Linked DNA regions of Homo sapiens: region 1 is linked to region 2. Evidence: promoter capture Hi-C in 16 types of primary human blood cells and fetal thymus (Javierre and others, 2016). All regions are on one chromosome and are shown on one strand. The core of a region is centred on a gene start or on the middle of the fragment in contact, and the rest is flanking DNA. Distances in the headings are between cores, read along the strand shown.

Region 1 (5,239 bases), core at 1,308-3,807, 280 kb before region 2:
GCATAGAACACGTGGCCTTTGGCCCTTTAAGAAAAAGTTAAACAGTTCTGAGACTTGCAAAGAAAACAATATTATACTAACTCCAGAGTGCCTGTAGGAACAGAACAGGGAAACATCTGCCTGGGGCTGAAGAGGAAAGGAGAAGTCACCAGACAAATGTGCCATAGCTACAATATGCCTATTTTCTCTTTATTAACAACAATGGAAGGAATATAAGCTTGTAGCCATGGATAGAAGGGCCAAAGAAACTTAGGTTTTTTTTTGTTTTTTGTTTTTGTTTTTTCCTGGAGGTAGTCACAGAAAAAGGTTTCCTGCAGAAGTAAGGCTACCATCCATTTAGGTTTCAAACTTGGAGACCTATGTTAAAAGCCAGAGATCTTGGTCTCTAAAGACTCTAGGCAAGAAAATATAGTTAGGCAGAAATATTTCTTTAGAGCGTGCTCTAAATAGTATCACTGGTAAGTAGACAGTAAACATTCACAGTGTTGTTTTAAAAAAGTTATTAGCTAATAAATAAGCAATTTATTATTTAAGTGGGCCACTTTCTCCTCTTCCTGCTTCTCTACACATGTGGTTTTTAAATAGTTATGGTGATTTTCAAAGAGATTCTTGAAACTAGAGTTCTCTTCATAAATAACTGAAAATAAGTGAAAAAATAAAAGGAAAAATATACTTTATTACTCATCGCTAATGTTTCTGGTAAAAACAGACATTAGCACAGTTCCACATTAATTCATCACGATGTACCGCCACAAAAATAGAAGCGGCTTGCTGCTAGATCTTACCAATCCTTGGATTTTGTTTAATTTAAAATGATGTGCCGTTGCTTGTTGCATCTGGGGATGTAAATTTCTAAATATCCGTAAGGGAGGAACAATTAGGTCCAAGGAGAACAGAAGGTCAGAAAGGGCAACAATCAATTAGTCAAGCACACACTGAGTTCCTGAAAGTTCAAATTCTACATCTCTGGTTACTTTTGAAGTATTCTTTTTGGTTTTCCTTTCTTCAACAAAAAAGAACAATGTAGATTACCTAGGACGATGATGTAAAGGTCTACGGGCCTGTTGCTATGGATATTAGCGACTAGCGGAGAGACACAGCAGAGGAAGGGAGAAACAAGTGAGCTTTTTAAAAGAATGACAGAGATCTGTAAAGCTTAGGCTTTTTCCCTGATATTTTCCTTCCCTCGACTCCTAAGAGGACTAGAAATAGAAGCTTGTTTCCTGAGTGTTAAAAAGGCCTTCAGGAATTCTGTTGCTGGAATGAGCTTTAATTAGTGTATCCATTTCATGCATTTTAATATTCTAAAATATTCTTTGTAAATACTTCATTGTAATGCTATATCATATCTATTTCAGGCTAAATATGTACATGAAAATATTGCTATATATATATATATATATATATATATTCACCCTGAAATATATATGAAAGATAATAGGTACACAGATATATAAAATTAAGGACAATCCAAGAAGATATTTAGAGTTAGATTTAATTTCCTGAGTGTTTCACTTACGATTCCTAATTTACTTGTCAATTTAACTTACTGACTGCTTCACATATAATTTCAAAATCATCTCTGGACCAAAAAACAACCGTAGTAACAAATAGCTGGTTTAAAAGCATGCATGGGGATGGGGAGGTGGCCCAGGATTAAATGTGTAGGACAGAAGATCTGTGCACAAATAATGAAGAGTTGAGCTCTGCATGCATGCAGTCTGACACATCCTAGTCCAGACAGATATCACAGATTCTATTAGGAAGCTGCTGCACCTATCTGAGCTGCTCAAGAACTTGTTTTGCTTTCTGGTTCTTGTCTTATGTTCTGAATAATTGAAGATGCTAGACAAATAACCTCAGGATAAGCAATGTATTAAATATGATGAAATTTAAGCTTACAGCAGAGGAGAAACAATAAATCTGAAAGCTGGAATGGGAGTGAGCAATTTGGGGCAGGCCCCTCGTGAGCATTTGAAAGTGACAGCAATGATGGGAGGAGAAGGAAAAGAAAAACAACAAAAAGGAGAAATAGAACGTAAAATGCACATCAATCTGGGGCCATTTAGTAGAGCAAGCAAACAGCCATACACCTTGCAGCAGCTTCTGAAGGCAACACTATGCAGTCACTGATGTTCATGATGACCCTAATCAATTTTAAGTGCATTCAGCATATTCTGCTTACAGCAAAAAGTCAATTGAGACAGACTTCTTTGAAAACGGTCAACTTTGTGTATATGTTTGTGCCTGGAAAACTCACATACGTGGACCTACTCATTTCTTGAATTATCTTATGTAAATGAGAATACACATATGTGAGTATATACGGGTATGGGGGAGGGAGTGTTTGAGTAAGCATGCAAATTTAGTATTTTAATAATTACAGCTTCCCATAGCTTCTTACAGATGCCCCAATAGTGTACACAATGAGTGATCATCCACAGCTGAAAGGGCTTTAAAGAGAATCTAACTTTTTCCTGCCAAGGTCCTGGCCAAAACCCAATTTCATTACAGTCTAGACATGCCTATTTACCTAAAGTTTATTTGCATTTGATTTTGATATATTCAATTTTGTTTAAGTTTTGTGATTAAAACTACTTTCTGTCTAAGAGAACTGGTTTTCTTAACTATTAATTTAAACCCACGTGTTTCTATATCATGGCAAAAACATTCACAGAAAACACTGCACTCCATATGTAAGCTAAGTGTCCAGCACATCATTAAGTCCACTCACCTTGTTGGCCACTGCATTTACGCTGGGTCTTGCATCATAAATGGTGAGTTTAGAAATTTGTTTATTAGTCTCCCTGATAACATCGAGATATTTCTCATCATCTTTATTTCGTTTCCCACTCATACCGACAAGAGGCTGACTGCAACGCACAATGACCGTCTTATTTTCTGGATGAATCCATGACAGCACCTATGGTTAAGTCAGAAAGTTTAAGCTATCAAGAAAGCAAATCTCCAAGCAAACAATTAAAACTGTAAAACAGTAAAGCACTGACGGTTATCAAGAAGTGAATCTGATTGTGCTAAAATAGAATACTTGTTCACTTGCAATCTCACTGCGTGTGTGTGCCCAGAGACATGCATTTAATAATATAACTCAGAAACAAGTACAATTACCAGTCTTTTCTTAATTAGCACCACATCCAATATAAATTAATTGCTTACCTAAAAATAGTTATATCACTTAAAGGAAATTGAAAGCTTGATCCTATTTTAATTATGTAGCTTGCACTGGATTTGTTATCATATAGAAGCAGCTTTGGCAAAAAGTGAGAGGTAAAGGAAATTGTCTCTGGTACAATATGTTTCTCATAATACCAACTCTGTCTACAGATCATTTTCCCAACAGTCTCAATTCTAGAATCTAACACAGGAAGGAAGAAAACCTGAGCAGAGCAAAACTGATCTCAGGACAGCCCAAAGAGCATAGATCTGCTCGTCTCCACAGTGCAGTGTGGACATCCAATGCCTAGGAGACCTCATCAAGCCCTGATTCAGAACCTATCTTCTCTAACTTTATACACAAGTCTAGCACATTTGCTCCCTGGTTGCCAAGCTCATAGCATGTGAAAAGTAATACACGTAAAAGGTAGCTAATAATGTAATATACCAAAAACGACAGAATTGTACACTTGAGATGGGAAATTGTTTGGTATGTGAAGTAGATCTCAATAAAGCTATTAAAAATGGGAAGCTGGAGAACTGCAGCACAGTGGGCGACAATGTGGACTTTGGGGTCTAGTGCCATCTCTGCCGTGGTTCTAACCTCAGGCATTTCACTCGCAGCTTCTCTGGCTTCCCTTTCCTCTTCCATAAAATGGGGAGAATAATATAATCTCATAGGGTTGCTCGGTGGCCTGAAGAAGAATGCCCAGAAAGTCTGCAATAAACACTGGCTCGTGTTAGCTTATAGAGGCAGGCCCAGCAGCCAGGAAAGTCAGTTAGCAAAAACTACAAAATGCAGATACAAAGAACGAAAGAAGCTTAATCATGTGGGCTCACTCAACATAACACCAAATTCCCTGATGTCTCTGAAGTTACCTACCCCATGATGGCAAATGACAAACATTGATGTTTATAAAAATGAGTGTTTATAATGACAACAGGTTATTGAGAAAAGATTATACAGTAATATTTATTCATTCTCAGAACAAATATGGTCCTTGCACCATGCTAGAGATCAATTAAAAACACCATTGTAGCCCCTGCCTAATAAGAGTCCAAAGGCTCAGAACTGGGAGCCTTGGAGAAGGTACCAGTGGGACCTAAACCTCCACCTTCCAATCTATAATGCACAGCACATATGAGATCTGCCTTCCTTTCCCTCTATGGCCCTGGTATCAAGAGAGACAAGAGACATGAGACCACTTTAAAGGAGCAATTTGCTACACATTTAAAAGATTTATTATTTGAGAAATTATTAAAATATTTTTTAATATTTTTTATTATTTTAATAATTTGAGAAATTATTAAAAATAAAAATTATTTATTATTGAGAAAGACCCTCATCAAGTTGTAAATTTCAGTCGGGCCATAGGCAATGGCCTCCCGACCCCTATTCTCTTTGTGGTGCCATGTTAGGAAATGCTACTCCTCTGAGTTGTTTCTCCTCTTAATTTCTTTGCAGGAGGGGGGATTCTTACTACTTTTTGAAAAGGATGCTTATTACAGAGCTAAACAGGTACAAATAATGTTCATTTCACAGTGTCAACTACCATGAGTGCTTTTACAGTATATGGCACTGTATTATTCTTATTAAAATTCATATCTAGAAGCCATAGATAATTAAGTACACAAATATCTAACCACTGAAAGATGTTTATTACAGCATTACTTACAATAGCAAAAGATTAAGCAGAAGCTGAATGTCTCACAATGGAAAACTGATTAAATCATGGTACATCTACACACTGGCATATGAGCGGATCATATTTAGCAACATGGGAAGTTGTTTACAAGATATTGCTAGATAAAGACACAAATTATAGAATAATTTCTATAGACTGAGACACAAATTATAGAATAATTTCACTTTTTTCAAATATATATACATATGTGTGTGTGTGTGTAGATATATGCTTAGAAGGAAGTCTGAAAGGATATATACCAACAGTGTTAACACTGGTTCTCACTAGGTGGCAGACTCCTTTTTGCTTATCAGTATTTTTTATAATGCTTAAAATGAACGTGCATTACTCATACATTAAAGACTCATAAAATTAAGAGA
Region 2 (5,117 bases), core at 637-3,136:
TGCGTCCCTTTTCCCCTTCCCTCTCTCCAGCCTCCTGGGAAACAAAGGGGCTTTTTATAAAGCGGATTGTTGGCGGCGGCGGCGGCGGGGGTGGGAGGGAGGGGGGATCTATAAAGACAAGAAGAGGTGGGAGGGAGGGAAGGAAAGAAGCTGCGCGGCCTCCAGGGGCCCAGAGCTGCGGTGGCGGCCGGGAAGCCCCGGCGGGTGCACGGTCGACCCCGCCCGGCCGGTGGGCACTCGGGCGGCAACCCACGCCTGCCAAGAGCTGGGCCGCGCCGCTGCGATGTCGCTCGCCGGCTCACCGCAACCAGGGAACACAATTCCCCAGGCGCGGGCCGGGGCCGCTGGGGGCGGCGCAATTCCCGCGGGGGTCTACCCCGGGAGACCCAGGCCCTCTCCCTAGCCAACTCTTTCAAAATTGCTTGGTCTCAGGGAGACTTTGCGCCTTTGTTCCAGCGCAGCCGCCTCTAGTAAGCTCGGCTCGCTCGCCCTTGCAGACAATGTCCCGGAGCCGGCCTGGGTTTGCCTACCCGTGAGCAGCACGTTCACCGTGGGGACCGCGCCCCCGGGGGGCACCGTGGTGCCAAACAACAACGACAAGCCACCCCAGCAAAAGCAGCCCCTTCTCCCCACGTCCCCCAGCCACGCTGTGCTCCCGCCCGCTCACACACACCCACACTCCGGGTGCCCAGGTCAGCCGCACCCAGCTGCAGAAGCGCGGCGGGGCGGGAGTGAATGCTCCAGCCCGAGGCGCGTGTTTGCACAGGTTCCGATGGCTTCAGGGCCGAGCTTTCTGGCAGGCTAATCCTATTAGTGTCTGCTCAGTCCGAATTTAATCACGGATCAGAATCAGACGACATCTCCAGCTTTCCAGGAGGCTTCGGACACACTGCATTGGGACGGAGCCTGGCCAAGCCAACTGGCCGAGAAAAGTATTTGGCGGCGCTCCGGGGGGCTTCCCGCCCGCGCTAGCCGGCGCCGGGCGCCCAGCTCTGTCGTCGCGCGGATGCTGGGGAACCTGAAGCGCGGACTCTGACGCAGGGGCGCCGGGGCTGCTCCGCAGGAACCCAGTCCGGGCTGCCCTGAACACCAGCTCAGCTCCGGGCTGCGCTTCCCAGGAGTTGGCAGGGGAGGGAGTGCAGGGCAGCGGATTCGGCGCGCACACTCCACACTCTCGCTCAGAGGCGGCAAACAGCGTTGGGGTGGGGAAATCCTTCATCCAGCGCCCACTGCCTACTGGCCTGGGCTCAGGCAGCTGGCATGTGAAGGCACCGTCGCCGGTGACACCCAGGCTGCAAGCGACCCGGGGGTGCTGGGACAGAGTGGGAGCCTCCCAGTAGCCCAGCGTAGCCCGAGGAGCTTGCGCCCTTCTACCTTTCCTCCCCGGTACGTGGCTGTCCCCGCCGGATTTCAGACGCCCGACGGGCGCCGAGCCAAAGGCCGTGGTCTCCGGCGTTTCGAGCTGCGCCCAGCCCAGCCGGGCTGGTTCGAGAAGGGGGTGGCCGCCCGCAGCGCCAGGTGGGCCGTGTGCTCAGAGCAAACTTTAGGGTCTACCGACTCGAAGCACCCCTGGGACCCCGATCCTCAGCGATGGGGACCATAACTGGGGGCTACAAGTGTACCCCGGAACCCCCAGAACAGTCAGACTTCCTGCACCCGCCCTCAGCCTTACCGTGCTGCAGAGCTCCGGCGGCGGCGGGGGCAGTGTCCGAGGGGCGGGCGGCCGCCGGCGCGGGCAGCCTGGACTCAGGCGGCCGCCAAGGAACCCAGCCCTGTTGCAGATCACCCCCTGGCTAGCGGCCGGTGCCCCCGCGCCCGCCCGCCGCCGGCCGCTTCAGCTCGCGGCCAAGTTCATGCTGGCGGCGCTGCAGTGGCGGCCTCAATCTGCTCGCTCCATTCCCACCGCCCGGCTCCGCGCCGCGCGCCCGGAAGGTGGAGTTTCGGGGGTTTAAGTTACTGATAGGCATTTCTCACTGCTGTGTCACTCGGGGAGGAGGAGACACGCACGCCGCACACTCACACACCCTCACACTCACGGCGACGAGCGGCTCCGGCCTTAAAGGGGAAGCCGCGCTGCCCTGCCCGCGACCCCGCCAGCCCGAAGCCTGGAAACTCAGGGTTTCCACTCCGGGATGGGGCAGCGGGCAGCCAAAGAGCTGCGGCCGCCCGAGGGGCCTCCCGGGCCCTCCCACCAGTCTTTAGAGGAGAAAGCGGCCGCAGGCTGGCTTCGCTGTTGCAGCCTCATTTCTCCAGTCGGCTCGAACCAGGGCAGCTGGGGAGGGATCGGAGGGGCGGAAGGGGCATCGGTGCACTCACCTTGGCTGCTCCGCACTCAGTGGAGGGTGGTCTGTGCCCCCGGCGTCAGCTGGCTTGCCTAGGCGGTGCGCTGGTGGAAAGAGGCGACAGCAGGGTTAGCGGAGCGCCTCCAGCAGACAGAGCCCGCCGGAGGGCCGCAGGCGGGGCCCGGCGCGCTTGGGAAACCCGCACGCCGAAGGTAGACTTTCCGCGTCTGGGGAAAACGAGCTGGTGAGCCGTGCGTGGCCGGGACACACGAAGAGCGAGCACGGAGAGCCAAAAGCCAGCGGTCATCAGTGACAGGGCGAGAGAGCGCTCAGGACCGAGAGACCAAGAAAGACAGGAGACCGTACGAGACACAGAGAAGGCAGAGACTGAGAGACAGATACCGAGAGAGGCACCGGCGGAGATAGAGGTAGAGACACGATGAAGGGAGAGGAGAGGAGAGGAGATGAGAGGAGAGGAGAGGAGAGGAGGAAATAAGGAGAGGAGGAGAGGGACCAGAGAACAAGAGAGCTTGCAAGAGGAATGACAGATCCCCAGAGGACCCTGAAGTGTCACAGGGACGGGAGTCTCATCACAAAGTAGCCTATTCAGCCCCCATCCCCCTTCCCATTTTCACCAGAGCCTGACCCTAGGGCTAGCGGCCAGGCCCTTCTCCTCCCCTCGCCCTGGGAGGGGCACTCACCTGCAGTGGGTGGCTGCTGGGTGGGTAGCGCCAGTCCCTCCGCCCACGCATCCGCTCACCAGCTCGCGCCCTGACTGCCAAACAGACCCGCTGTGGCGGCAGCGGGGACCAGGGCTCTCAGGTGGCAGTTAGTGAACTGCATTCTCTCCATCCCGGCCGAGTGCCCCACTCCCCACTTCCCAGTCCCCCACCCTTAGCGCGGACGCTGTCGGCGTCGCCCGCCAGTACGCTTAGCTCAGAGTCCAGGCTCGCTGGCCAGTCTCCCGTTCCACTGGACCAGGGCACGCGATGCTCCCGCCCAAGCTGGGCTGGATTGGCTCCCTCCGCAGTTATCCCAAGACGGACACCTGCGGCTTCTGCAGGAACATAGGTTCCTTGGGAACTGCCGGGCGGGCCAGCGCGCCCTGTCCACCATCTGCCCTGGCGCCGAGTCCAGCGACTCCCCTCCCACCTATCCCACCTCCCGGGTATTTGGCTGCGCCCCTTCTCTAGGATCCCCTCCCCGGATGCGTTTCCTAACCTGGACTTCTCCAGCCGATGGCAGCTGCAGGGGCTGAGCACAACCCGGGAACGCCGCGTCTGCTCCGACAGCAGCAGCGCTCAGCTCCTGTCCGCACCTCTGAGTAGCAACCTGTCACCAACACATCTGGTCACGCTCAGCGGAGCCGCAGGCCACGAATAAAGGGGTGGGCCCGCCGCCCACTAGGCCCCTCCTTCCCTCCACGCCCACGCTCTCGGCCCTCGGAAAGCGCTGGGGCCACCTCCGAGAACCCAGCAAGATCCCTTCGTGGGCTACGTAGGCGCAGTGAGGCTGGGCGATTGCCTCCTAGCGTTTCACGAAGTTACCTGGAGGAAGAGCGGCGTCCAGGCCCAACCGCGAGGCACATGCAGGGGCTGTGGCTTCGCAGCCCCAGCGCTGCCAGGATGCGCCCAGCCCAACAGGGCGAGGCTGGGGGTACACAGTTCGTCAGGGCAGTTGTGAAGGAATCCGCCTTGTCTGGGTCCAGTCCTGTCTGCTCTGCAAAGGGCAAGCAGCCAGAAGAGGTTATTGCTCTCTGGTGACTGAACCTTACCTTCAAGGCCCTCCAGGGAGAGCTAGAGTCATCTCAGGGTTGCCAGTGCCCCGGTAGAACTGCGAGAGTGCGGGAGTCCCTTGAAGGAAATCTGATTAAACAAAGCTGAATGGGAGATGGCCATGCCTATCACGGAGCATTGGCAGGATGCTTTTAAAATTCTATCTGCAACCTCCAAGTGCACTAGCCAAGGAGATGGAAGGTGGGTTTCTGTTCCCAGCACCTCCACTCAACCCTTGGACCACTTGCTCTCATCTTCCTCAGTGGGACAAATGATGCCCATTCCCCTAGAGCATCCTAAGAAGCCTGTAATATCACAGCCACACGTCTGCGAGATGGCTAACTGCCTGCTTGGCACCAGCACCTGGATGGCCATTAGAAATCGCCTGACTGAACCGAGTTCCTGATCGTCTCCCAAGTGTGCTGAGCCCATAGTCTGCTACCTCAGTTCATGGCTACTCCATCCTTCACGTTGCCCAGGCAGAAGGCCCTGGGATCCTCCCCGATTCTTCTCTCTTGCTCACACCTCACAGCCAGTCCAGTGGACAATTCTGCCATCTGCATCATCAAAATGTATCCACAATGTCAGTCTGCTCATCCATTGCTCCCCCCGGGTACCAGCCAGCAGCCTCTCCCCCCAGGATAACTCCAGTAGCTGCCGCACAGACTGCCCTCATTCCTCCCTCCCTTCAACCCTCTCCTTGCAGTCTATTCCCCGATCTCTGTGCCAAACCCCACAGTGACTCCCCATTGCACTCAAAGTAGAACTGAAGTGCTTCTAGTGGCCTCTGGGGCCCTTCAGGCATGTCCCTCCACTATCTCAATAACGTCATCTTCCCTCCACTCACTGTGCTCCAGCCACACAGACCTCCCAACTCTTCCTCAACACATAGATACATTCCTGCTTTACTTAGGACTTTTGCTTTAGCTGTTCCCTTGGGCTGGAATTCACTTCCCCAAGATATCTATGGGCTGGCTCCCTCATTTCCTTTAGTCTTGACACAAATGTCACCTGGCCACCCTATGTAACATTTCAAAGCCCCACGCCCATCTCTGGCACT

What was found. Contacts are between HindIII fragments. The CHiCAGO score rates a contact against its expected background, and 5 or more counts as called.
Region 1: a fragment that was not itself captured here is called in contact with the fragment with the promoter of MAMLD1 in region 2 in 1 of 17 cell types (activated CD4 T cells); the score reaches 5.6 in activated CD4 T cells.

Annotation. Positions count from the first base shown.
Region 1 is chrX:150,643,367-150,648,605 of GRCh38, reverse strand. It overlaps MTM1 (myotubularin 1), which reads right to left. Exons shown (of 15, transcript NM_000252.3): 9 at 2,735-2,923. Among named protein-coding and RNA genes, the nearest start is that of MTMR1, 47 kb to the left of the region's middle. The HindIII fragment of the contact is 1,316 bases long and covers 1,900-3,215 here.
Region 2 is chrX:150,360,086-150,365,202 of GRCh38, reverse strand. MAMLD1 (mastermind like domain containing 1) reads right to left here and starts at 1,886. Exons shown (of 8, transcript NM_005491.5): 1 at 1,673-1,886. The HindIII fragment of the contact is 7,703 bases long and covers 1-5,117 here.